3 separate regions of the Homo sapiens genome follow, and all the other regions are linked to region 3. The links are contacts of gene promoters, found by promoter capture Hi-C in blood cells and fetal thymus (Javierre and others, 2016). All regions are on one chromosome and are shown on one strand. The core of a region is centred on a gene start or on the middle of the fragment in contact, and the rest is flanking DNA. Distances in the headings are between cores, read along the strand shown. Region 1 has its middle 26 kb from the start of KRTAP20-3. Region 2 has its middle 13 kb from the start of KRTAP22-2. Region 3 holds the start of KRTAP20-1 (keratin associated protein 20-1).

Region 1 (4,091 bases), core at 188-2,687, 53 kb before region 3:
TGAAAGTAGATGCTTGAGAAGTCCAGCACATACGTACTGAATAGCCTGTTCCTGGGAAGCTCTATTACAGTGAATGGAACACTGTAATAAGGAAAGGGTACAGGTTTCTTGAGATGATATATATTAGCTGTGCCAGTAATTCAGTGACAATCATTAGATCATGTGGAAATTTCTGATTTCATCATAGTCATCATCATCATCATGAGCTGCAACTAATAATTCTTTTTCAATTACCAGTTAAAATTTATTCATTTATTTCAGTGATACTGAGTATCCAGTTATAGGACTGTACTTTTCAATTAAATAGGTCTGGTTTTTTAGAATACTGCAGAGGGATATGTATAGTTAGATAAAACAGAAAATTCTAAGAAACATATAAGACACATTATAATTTGAGTTACATTTTTCCTGGTGTATTAGTCTGTTTTCATTCTGCTGATAAAGACATACCTGAGATTGGAAAGAAAAAGAGGTTTTAATGGACTTAGAGTTCCATGTGGCTGGAGAGGCCTTGTAATCATGGTGGAATGTAAAAGGCACATCTCACATGGTGGCAGACAAGAGAAGAGAGTTGTGCAGGGAAACTCCTGTTTTTAAAACCATCAGATCTCATGAGACTCATTCACTATCACAAGAGCAACACAGGAAAGACCCGCACCCATAATTCAATCACCTCCCACCGGCTTCTTCCCATGACACGTGGGAATTGTGTGAGTTACAATTCAAGATGATATTTGGGTGAGGACAGAGCCAGACCTTATGATTCTGCCCCTGGCCCCTCCAAAATTCCATGTCTTCACATTCCAAAACCAATAATGCCTTCCCAACAGTACCCCAAAGTCTTAACTCATTTCAGCATTAACTTAAAAGTCCACATTCCAATCTCATCTGAGACAAGGCAAGTCCCTTCCACCTATGAGCCTGTAAAATCAAAAGCAAGTTAGTTAATTCCTAGACACAATGGGGGTACAGGCACTGGGTAAATATAGCCATACCAAATAGGAGAAATTGGCCAAAACAAAGGGGCTACAGGCCCCACGCAAGTCCAAAATCCAGCAAGGCAGTTAAATCTTAAAGCTCCAGGATGATCTCCATTGACTCCATGTCTCACATCCAGGTCTTGCTGATGCAAGAGGTGGGTTTCCATGGTCTTGGGCAGCACTGCCCCTGTGGCTTTGCAGGGTACAGCCTCCCTCCTGGCTGCTTCCATGGGCTGGCATTTAGTGTCTGCAGCTTTTCCAGGTACATGGTGCAAGCTGTCTGTGGATCTACCATTCTGGGGTCTGGAGGACATTGGCCCTCTTCTCACAGCTCCACTCAGTGGTGCCCCAGTAGGGACTCTGTGTGGGGGCTCTGGCCCCACATTTCCCTTTCATATTGCCTTAGCAGAGGTTCTCCATGAGTGCCCTGACCCTGCAACAAACTTCTGCCTGTACATCCAGGCATTTCCATACATGCTCAGCAATCCAGGCATAGGTTCCCAAACCTCAATTCTTGATTTCCGTGCACTGGTAGGCTTCACAGCCCCAGGAAGCTGCCAAGGCTTGAGGCTTGCTCCCTGTGAAGTCATGGCCTGAGCTCTGTATTGGCCCCTTTCAGCCATGGCTAGAGTGGCTTGGACACAGGGAACCAAGTCCCTAGGTTGCACACAGCACAGAGACACTGGGCTTGGCCCAGTAAATCACCTTTTTCTTCCTAGGCCTCTGGGCCTGTGATGGGAGGAGCTGCCGTGAAGGCCTTTGACATGCTCTGGAGATGTTTTCCCCATTGTCTTGGGGATTAACATTCAGCTCATTGCTACTTATGCAAATTTCTGCAGCCAGCTTGAATTTCTCCTTGGAAAATGGGATTTTCTTTTCTATTTCATTGTCAGGCTGCAAATTTTCCAAACTTTTATGCTCTGCTTCCCTTTTAAAACTGAATGTCTTTAAGAGCACCCAAGTCACATCTTGAATGCTTTGCTGCTTAGAAATGTCTTCTGACAGTTACCCTAAAGCATCTCTCTCAAGTTCAAAGTTCCACAGATCTCTAGGGCAGGGTCAAAATGCTGCCAGTCTCTTTGTAAAACATAAGAAGGGTCACCTCTGCTCCAATTCCCAGCAAGTTCCTTATCTCCATCTGAGACCACCCCGACCTGGATGCTATTTTCCATATCACTATCAGCATCATCTTTGTCAAAGCCATTCAACACATCTCTAGGAAGTTTCTGACTTTCCCACATTTTTCCTGTCTTCTTCTGATCCCTCCTGACTGTTCCAACCCCTGCCTGTTACCCAGTTCCAAAGTTGCTTCCACACTATCAGGTATCTTTAGCAGCACCTCACTTTACTGGTACCAATTTACTCTATTAGTTTGTTTTCACACTGCTGATAAAGACATACCTGAGACTGGGAAGAAAAATAGGTTTTAATTGTACTTACAGTTCCATGTGGCTGGGGAGACCTCACAATCATGGTGGAAGGTAAAAGGCATGTCTCACATGGCAGCAGACAAGGGAAGAGAGTTTGTGCAGGGAAACTCCCATTTTTAAAACCATCATATTTCATGGGACGCATTCACTGGTCATGAGAGCAGTGCAGGAAAGACCTGCCCCCATAATTCAATCACCTCCCACCGGCTTTTCCCCATGACATGTGGGAAATATAAAAGTTACAATTAAGATTTGGGTGGAGGCACAGGCAAATCATATACCTGGATCATTTAAAATTATTTTTTTTGTGAACTCTGATTAATAGATAATTTAATTATCTTTAGCTTATTACTTTGTGGGAAGATAAACATAGATGTATATGATCTTTACTGAGTGCTGTTATGTGCCAGCCAGTCTACTAAGCATCTTACAGGTACTAACCTATTTATTTTTCACAAAAACTCAGTGAAGATGGCATATTATCACCACTTTACCAATAAATAAATGAAAATTTAGTAAAACCAGCTATTAGGAATTATACAGATAACTAAATAGCAGAGCTAGGACTTGAAGCCAGGTCAGCCTGATTCCTAATTCCCTGGTCTCAGGCAGTTGGCCAAACTGGTATTTTTGTTTTTCATAGGCTTATAGTCATTAATTTTTCCTATCAGTAGACTTTGATGCCTTAGCACTGTTATTTTCCAAGACAGATACAGTGTGTGCTTCTTTTTCCTGATGTCTTAAGGTTTTTACTTATTCTTGGTCAATAGTACAAGTGGTCCCTAATTCTCACAGAAGCAAATATACGAGGGGAGATCTGCCCTTTTCGCTCATTCTGAGGTTGAATATTTTGAGAAACTCTCAATAACCATGGGTGTTATTGTGGGTTGTAACTGTGTTCTCCAAAAAGATATTTTGGGTTCCTAACCCCTGGTACTGTGCATAGGACTTATTTAGAAAAATAGGGCCTTTGCAGATGCAATCAAGTTAAGATGAGGTCGTACTCTGGGTGGCCCTAAATCAATCTGACTGATGTCCTTATAAGAAGAGAAGAGATGCAGAGATACACAGAGAGAATGCCATATCACGATGGTGGCAAGATTGGAGTAATGAGTCTACAAGCCAAAGAATTCAAAGCATTCTGCTGGCAACAGCAGAAACTAGGAGAAAGGGATGGGGTAGATTCTCCCTTAGGGTCTTCAGAAGAACATGGCCATTTGAACAACATGATTCTGGATTTCTGGCTTCTAAAACTGTGAGAAAATAGATCTCTGTTGTTTAAATCTATCCAGCTTGGGTACTTTGTTACTGCAGCCATGGGAAACTAAGGCAAGACTGTTCTTCCTGTTTACTATCTCTGGCTTTTAAAATCTCCTGTGCATCTGCTGTGTTTGAATGTAAGAATAAGAGGAAAATACATTTTCTCATGAAAAAGGCAAAAGTAAACAAGAAGCCAAATTTCATCTCTTCTTTTATAAGAAGCTACAAGATATTAGGTGACTCAACTTTTTCATACATATACTCAGCCATTCTTAGGGGATAAATTACCTGCAGCTGCAAGTGAAGAGAAATTTATGTTTGAGTTCCAAATAATGTACCTGTGACATCAAAAGCCTACTGAACTGAATAAACACAAATAAGAACAATATTTCCTAGGGCAGATTAAGCATTTCTATTGAAA
Region 2 (4,331 bases), core at 504-3,003, 39 kb after region 3:
TCTGTCTACTATATTTTAGCTTCTTTTTTTTTCCACTGACACCTTACAGTCAGTCTATAAACATGCTCAAGTCTTTTGATATTAAAAAAGCCTGTCTCAACACCAGATCACTCCTGGCTAGCTTTCTCTAACCTTCTTTAAATCTAAGGTTTGATATAGTTTTCTCTGATGCTTCTCATTCAGTCTTCAATACACTCTAACTTGTCTCTTCCTCTCACTGTAACCCAAGGATTGTTCTCATTTAGGTCACCAATGGCCCACTAATTACTCAGTCTTTTTGATATCTCATGTTTGCCCTCCTAGTGTCATTTGGCACTAACGGCCACTTCATTCCTTGGCTTCTGTTATATGCTTTTCTTACTTTGGTTCTCTTGCATTTTTGGTGCTTCTTACTAGTCTACCTGAAAGACTGTTTTCCTGCTGTCAGCGGGAGGTCTGTCCTTGCTCTTTGGCTCCATCAATTAATGCACAAAATCTGACCTTATAAGCAGGGCATAAGACTCCTTCATGATCCAGTCTGGGTTAGTGTTTGTATTAGTCTGTTTTCACACTGCTATAAAGAACTGCCCAAGATTGGGTAATCTGTAAAGGTAAGAGCTGGCTTCTTAGTCTCAGAAGAAACTATATCCTCACCGTTCTATATAACTATATAGAAACTATATAACACAGAAACCATATAACTCACAGTTCTGCATGGCTGACGAGGCCTCAGGAAACTTATAATCATGGCAGAAGGTGAAGGGAAAGCAAGGCACATCTTACATGGCAGCAGGAAAGAGAGAGCACAGGGGAAACTGCCACTTTTAAACCATTAGATCTCATGAGAACTCCCTCACTCTCATGAAAACAGCGTGGGGGATACCGCCCCCATATCTACCTACTTCCCACCAAGTTCCTTCCTGGACTCGCGGGGATTACAACTTGAGATGAGAATTGGGTGGGGACACAGAGCCAAACCATATCAGAGTCTGGTGTCATTTTCTGCTTCTCCTTCATATACCAACAGTCATTTTATCCTGTTTTTTCTACTAAAAATTTGCTGACCATGGCATGCATTCTCAGTCCTTCTTATCTGTGGATAACTCACAACATCTATGAGAAAATCTATTCTGCCTGATGAGCTATAGCTGAGTCAACTGTGAAGTCTTCACTGGAGCACTGCATTATCTGAGAAGTGTTTCTTTGCCTGCCTCCCACAGAACCTACTTAGTCATGTCAGGCAGACCCAGATGATCTCTTCACTCATTGCCCACAGAACTCTTCCCTTACTTAATTATAAGACATAGACTTTGTTTTTTTACCATTTATTTTAGATCTATCCCAATAAGATTTATTCATTCATTCATTTACACACATGGTGTAAACTGAGCATCTATTATAAAAAGAGAAACAAGACATAATCCCTACCATGAAAGAGCTTATAGTTTAGTAAGTTAGTAGACAGGTGAGTCTACATTACAGGTAAGCGCTGTGAGAGGAAAGACCACAGGGGTGTTATGGAAACATAAAATATGGACAAGAGATAGAGGATAAGGTGACTCATTCAGGGTGCAGAGACAAATAAGGGGGGTTTTCTATGACAATGATGAAGTAGCCAGATGAAGTCAAGATGGAAGGTCATTTCAGGTGGAGAAAACTGTGTACATAAAGGCACAAATGTACAAAGCAGGAAGTATAAATCATAATTACGAATTATTGAAGCCTTTGTTCTTGCCTGATATATGTTTGTATTCTCAGCACTTAGCAGAGTCCCTGTTAACAGTGTTCTGGCTCCTGAGTTTGTTAACTCCCAAATAATGAATTAACACATCAATTACAAATTATAAATATATAGGCTGGGTGCGGTGGCTCATGCCTGTAATCCCAGCATTTTGGGAGGCTGAGGCAGGTTGCTTGCCTGCGCTCAGGAGTCTGAGACCAGCTGGGAAACATGGCAAAACCCTGTCTCTACCAAAAATACAAAAAATTGGCCGGGCACGGTGGCTCATGCATGTGGTCCCAGCTACTCAGGAGGCTGAGGTGGGAGGATCACTTGAGCCTGGGAGGCAGAGGTTGCAGTGAGCCAAGATCGCACCACTGCACTCCAACCTGGGTGACAGAGTGAGAACCCATCTCAAACAAACAAACAAACAAACAAACAAAATATATATGGATATTATATGTCAGCTAAAAATACCAATACATGAATGAATGCTTTCTTCCACAGAGTGTGCATTGTTAAGAACCAGGTCCTCCATGGTACTGCAATAATTTATATTAATTAATTTTAATCATGGTAGATTTTCAATCTCATTTAGTCATTTTAGTCACAGCACAACCAATGCTATTATCCAAAACAGTAGCTTTATTTTCCTTACATACCCTGGCTTTTGGCCTTTTCAGTCAGACTGTATGTTCGCTGCATCATCTCATGTTGAGCTTCCCTGCAGCCATAATTCGTGTTTTGTACTTCACATCCTTTTGACTGTCGTTCTTCAGCTTATTTGCAGAAGATCTGAAAAACCATGCAGTATGTCTCATGGTTTATAGCTGGTCAGCTTGTTGTAATCCCTGTTTACTCATGCCCAGTGTGGTATTCCCTTATTAGAAGGTGATTTTTAGTGTGTCTTTATAGGATAGGTTAGAAAAAAAATCTGGTATCACTCCAATTTCCATCTTTCTAAATGGTGAGTGGAGTAAATTTCAAGGCACATTGTGTTCATGTCTGCTCTAAAGAGGTGTGCTGAGAAAACATCAAATATTTTAACCCTTGATTTTTCCAAGGAAAGGACAAGTGATATGTATGGTAGTAGGCATTTTTTAAGTTAAAAGGAACAGATAAAAAATGAATTTTTATAAAGCGATGCTACCGTCACATAGCTGGGTAGGTCTGAGTTTGGACCATCACTGTTCTCCTTACTTTTCATATGACTTTTAGCCAATTACTCGACTTCTTTTTGCCTCAGTTTTTTAATTTGTAAAAGTGAGGATATATTTCTCTCTTTGGATTGTGTGATGTTTTAATGATATAAGAAATAAAACTGTACTCAACAAGTGTTAGTTCCCCAATAGTTCTGGACATTAATACAAATTTTTAATAAATTCAAAGCCAGTGGAATAGGGAGATTCATTGTACCTCACATGCCAAGTTTGCTATCATCGCTTCCATGCCAAGGGATAGATGACTTTGGACTTGCTGTATCACTAATGAACCAATATGGTAGAACTTCACTTTAGTGGGATGCACAAGAAGCTACTATATAGATTTTGTATTACATTTGTAAACATATAGTGCAAACATGCCTCTGTTGTTTCACATGTCCTTCTTCTTAAATCAAAGCACTCCTTTTCTATTTTGCCAGAATGAGCTATCTTGTCATTGAGGGCTGTTAAAGGAGATGGCAGGCTGAAAGAGCTCTATGAATAAAATCCAGCAAAGCCTTAGGATCTCTGGAGGAGAAGTTACTTGCAAGAAAGAACTGCTCTTAGTCAAATGTGTTGACATAAATAAATTAATTAGATTGAAAAGGAACCTGGGCTCTGAGCAAAATGTTAGTATCTAAAGGTATGTTTCTTTAAGAAATTAATAAATAACAGACTAGAATAAAATTATTGAGCACATATTTAACAATAATTAAATTTATCTTGGTGCAAGATATTTCCTTTTTGTGCCAATTACAAGTCACATTAAAATACTATGAAATGTTTTTATTTTTAAAGAAATTTATTTTAAAGATAATTTTAAAGAAAATTATCTTATTTTTTCTGAAAGCTTTTAAACTATCTTTTTCTAATTGTTTTTATGTAAATATGTTTGAAACTTACTGAAGTATCTAAGCTGTTTAATCACAGCTATCCAAGCACCTGTATCTTGCTTTTATCCTGGTATTAAGGCCCAAGAGCATGAGGTAATGGGCTTAACTAAACATTCTATTCTCCAGATAAAAAATGACAGTAACACATTCACAACAATAACGATTATGCTTTTGAGTGACAAAACATGGTCAGCATTACTGGAATCCTAAATATAAATTATGTGTATATCAAGATCTCATAAATGATGTTGGCCATCCAGGTCTTCGATCAATGCTTAAATGTCTGAAAAAATAAAGTCACACAGGTGGAATTCATGCCAAGTAATCAATACTTGTTAAAATATAAGCGCAGAGGAGAATCTTCTGGTTGTACAACAATTTTGGTCCTAATGCTACAAAACTGTTTGCCAAACTTAGCTTTATATGCCTTCCTTCTACCTATAATCAAATAAGTACTCCAAGCTGTAAATCACCTTGTAATCTTGGATGTTATTTACAAACTGTCTCCTTAAAACGGGGTTATCAGGATACATGTAA
Region 3 (4,522 bases), core at 1,711-4,210:
GATGAATAGTTGCTTTGTTTTCACTATTCTCCCCTTCTTTGAATATAATAGTTCTTTTTTTATGCTGGGCATGATCAACTTAGGAAAAAAATCCTCTAAATTTCCCAAGCTTCTTTGAAACCCACTCTAGTCATGTGATGAAGTTCTGAACAATGCATAAAATTTAAGGTATAATATGACGGCTTTCTGGATCCTTCCTTAAGATTCAAGTTGCATGGAGTCTATCATCTTCTTTGTATATTTCTTGGTCCTCTTCCCTAGGACACAAATGCCACCATCTTTGACTATGAAGATGAAGGTTACATCTTATGAATGATGAAGCAATGATTTAGAATGAGTCTGGGTCACTGAGGACTAGAAACCAGCTAGAGATGACTTAAATCCAGACTTTGATTATGTGAAAGAGAAATACATTCTTAAAATGTACACTATTTCTATCACTTGCAATAAATTCTACTCCTATCTAATACAACAATATAGAAAAAGGAATGAGAAAATTCTGCTAGGAACCAAATTTTAGACAGTGTTTCCACTTAAAAATTAAATATATCCCTGGGAACGATGGCAGCAAATATAAGAAAAGAAAAGCCATGGGCTATATTATTCTCTTTTAAAAGAATCTCGTTTATGCTATACAGATTAATTGCCCCTAGAAAGTGAATTTTAAGTAGGGTTAGTCACTTGAGTTCTTATATTTGAGATATTGAAGACTTTGTCACTTTTCTTTTAAAATTCTTGTTGGAATATGTATCTATTATTTGAACCATACTTTTTAAAACCAACACACAGAGAGTCAAAGAGCATAGTGTTATTTCCTAATTAAATAACTCCCATATTTGAGGATTTAAACCAAAATATTTCAGGCATGCTTCTGTCTCAAGTAACGTACCACCAAGAAATAATGGTGGATAGGATTAGTTTGTTTGGAGTAATGATTTTAAAACTCTTCGATCATAAAAGAACTTACTGAGGATCTTGAAAAGCCATTCTTTATGTGTTATATTTACTGATATTCATCTTTTTAAAATTAAAATTGATGATTTTAAAATATGAGTTAATCAATTTCAAAATAACAGTCATAATTTCATATTTTTAGAAACATAATTTTTTTAGAGCAAAAACTTCTTAGGAATAGTGGAATGTTTTACATGTTTGGTCAATCTCTTTAATGTCTCGCTTAATGGAAGACAGTTTCTCATATCTGATTTAGCTTTTAGTCTGTTGTGATAACATGCATATATCTGGAAAATTCCACCGTTCATTCATGAATGTATGGCAGTAAAAATGAAAAATGTATTATGAAAATAATTTTGCCCTTATCGAGACCTCAAAAGGGTCTTTGGTTCCCACATGCGTCCCTAGACCACACCTTGAGAAAATTTGGTCGAGAGCAGAGATCTTCAAACTTGTGAGATGAGAAAACCATACTGTAAATATTTTGAACCTGCATTCCCAATTTCAATTCAACCATTTATTTATAAATTTTATACATGTGTTATTGCTAATAATCATTAGCAATAACACATATACAATATGTATAATAGTAAATATATTATTTTAGGTATGTTTTGATATTTTAGAAAATTTTAAGAACTGGCAATGCATAGATTTGGAGTTCTGTTTCTAGATTCATTTTATTCTAATTACTGGAAAAGATATATTGTTTGCTGTATTCATTAAATCATGATACAAACTTTTAATCCCATTATCTAGTTGTATAACTTGTTTTTTAAATTTCCCTAATATAGTTTCCTTAATGTCAATAGTTTATTTTTACAGATTAATTGAGAAGTTTGATTTTCATACCATGTGGTAAAAATTCACTAAAACTCTTCCGTTTGGAAAAAATGTAAAACCCAATTAGAATATTCTAATAGTACACAAATACCAGTTTTATAAAGTATACAACTAGATAAAATTTAGTAATATTACAACAGAAATAATCTTGAATATTCATGAAAAGATGCTCTCTCCCAATATAGCAGCATGCCTAGAATACTTTAGGAGCTGTTGCATGAATGCAATGAAATATGAAATGAACTTCATTATCAAAATCGCCTATCATAAAGAGATTTCCTATAAAGACATCCAGGTTCCCAGACATGGCACAGCACTTCCTGTATACAGGATCTATATCAACAACATCAGGCAACTGAGAGGCTTCATAGTGATGAAGCTACCAGAAGGCAGACAACTTGGAAAACTCATGGAAGCCACAACTTAAAATGTGTATGTGTTTCTATGTGCTCTGGAGAAACAAGGACAGTCAGCAGCATGCAGCCACCAGCCTTAGGTGTGTAGCTTGTCAAGCTCAAGTAGAAATTATTTGAAGAGAAAGCAATCAACTGTGTCCCTACAGAAGCTCAGTTTTAAATAGTGTGAGAAATATACAGAAGGACAAAAAATAGGAAAATGAAATAAGATGTAGTGTCAACCCCTTGGGATAGTAATTATCCACAGGTTTCCATCTTACCATCATCCACATGCAAAGTTGACAATGAAAATAATAAACATGAAAACACACTATATTTGCAAACAGACTAAATTTATTTAAAGGACTTAAGAATCAAAGAATTGCATTTTAAAACCTATTCTTTATCATCTTGCACAACAGAACCAGAGAAAGACAGCATCTGTAGTTCTTTGATAATAGCCTAGTTTAGGTTTCTGCTGTTTTGAAGACACAGGATCAGATGAACAAGAGCAGCATGAGAATCCAGGTTTCACAAGCAGACAAATCTGGTGAGCTCTAGAATTGTTCAGTAGAAACCATATGACCAATATCTTCCATAGCAAGATGGGCAGTAGTAGCCATTTCCATAGCCTCCATAGCCACCATAACCACATCCATAGCCACGATAACCACAGCCATAGCCACAGCCAAGCCCACCATACCCATAGCCACCATAATAGTTGCTGTAGTAAATCATGGTGTCAGAAATGGATGGTTCAGGTGTAGAAGAGGATGTTCTTGAATTTGAACATCTCCATCTTCACAGGTCTTTTATACTTCCTCAGTAGTAGGTGTGGCAAATCACAGGCAATGTTGCTCTTATTATGAATTATTTTGGGTTGACCGCTAACACCGCCAAGGCAACACTCTCATAAATCTCTTATTTCATTAGGCATAGTGAAGCCTTCATAGCTAGGATTCCTCTAGTGTTGTGTCAAGATTTTCACAATCAAAGAATGTGATTTGAATGACAGATTTTTTTTAACCTGGTTTTAACATCCTTTTTTCCTGAGAGCACATACTAAAATTTCATGATGAGATTCTATGAAATAACAGAAACTATGCAAATCTCATCTGATTCAAATTGGTTTTGGCTTGTTAATTCCTTTACATTCATCTACCAGTTGCAGTTGAAGAAGTCTGTCTGCATGGCTTTGGGGAGACAGATGTGCCTAAGGGGCAAGTCTTTCGAGTATGAGATCTGTAATATTGCCCAATATTTCTTCAGAGATAGAACAGTTTATTTCACTTTAAATACATAAGTCAGGTAACATTTTTACAGGATACAACTTTACAAACGTACAAATGCACTTTATTTTACTGTTATACCAAATTCTATCTTGATTCATTATTTCCACTAAATGGCAAAACATTTATTCTTGTCCCTTTCAGGTAAACTCAACAAAATTCAATCACTTTCTGGTTGTCAGTATTAAAATACAATTGCAATAAAGACATTACCACTCCTCATTCTCTGCCTGAGGTGTGCTTCGATGTGCAGTGATATGCTGTTGGTTTTGAGGAGGACCATACCTGTTCTGCACTGACACCTTTGGATGGCATAACACATATTGCCATTTTCCACTGCCACAAAAATAAAACTCTGTTCAATCCATTACCTAGCATGAAGTGTTACATCCTTGGGTCTCTACAGCCAGAACAGTCTTTGGTTGTAGTAAGGAAATCAATGAGTCTCCACTCAGATCCACCTGGGTGAGAACCAATCATTGTATCTCCCCCTGCTTGTGCTATGTGTGTTGGGGAACTTGGTAGGACTTTCCCCTTCTCAGTAAAACCAGGATGTGACTTTCTCTGTTGTTAGATGTACATCCTCAATGCAGAGTTTCTCTTCCCTTCAGCTTCAAGGACATAATGCCCCTAAATGAGAACTTAAGCATGCCTGAGTTCTCTTATTCAATTGATCAACTCTCTACTGAAGCTTCTATCCAGAAAAACAGGGATGGGATGAAATAAGTAAAGACAGCAAAATTTATTCTAGTATTCTGGTTCCTACTATGAACCAAACACTATTCAAAGTGTCTGGTATGTATCAAAAGATTTGATTTTCTAAATTTCCTTGTGGGGTAGGTATCATTATTACAATCCCATTTGCAGATAGGGCAGCTGAAGCATGTAGTTAACAGTGGTCAGACAGCTATGGATAGTAGAGGTAAAATTTGAGCCTAGAAAGCACATTACAGATATTTTACTCTTATTTACTATATTCAACTCACTCTTATAAAGTCATCTTACTAAGAATATAAGTCCAGAGGGCTACTTGACTTAATC

The links. Contacts are between HindIII fragments. The CHiCAGO score rates a contact against its expected background, and 5 or more counts as called.
Region 1: a fragment that was not itself captured here is called in contact with the fragment with the promoter of KRTAP20-1 in region 3 in 1 of 17 cell types (neutrophils); the score reaches 5.2 in neutrophils.
Region 2: a contact is called between a fragment that was not itself captured here and the fragment with the promoter of KRTAP20-1 in region 3, in 1 of 17 cell types (neutrophils). The highest score is 5.5, in neutrophils.

What each region holds. Positions count from the first base shown.
Region 1 is chr21:30,666,606-30,670,696 of GRCh38, reverse strand. No RefSeq gene overlaps it. Among named protein-coding and RNA genes, the nearest start is that of KRTAP20-3, 26 kb to the right of the region's middle. The HindIII fragment of the contact is 8,660 bases long and covers 1-4,091 here.
Region 2 is chr21:30,574,795-30,579,125 of GRCh38, reverse strand. No RefSeq gene overlaps it. Among named protein-coding and RNA genes, the nearest start is that of KRTAP22-2, 13 kb to the left of the region's middle. The HindIII fragment of the contact is 4,000 bases long and covers 1-3,753 here.
Region 3 is chr21:30,614,863-30,619,384 of GRCh38, reverse strand. It overlaps KRTAP20-1 (keratin associated protein 20-1), which reads right to left and starts at 2,960. Exons shown (of 1, transcript NM_181615.2): 1 at 2,686-2,960. The coding sequence starts at 2,930. The coding sequence ends at 2,760. The HindIII fragment of the contact is 4,063 bases long and covers 112-4,174 here.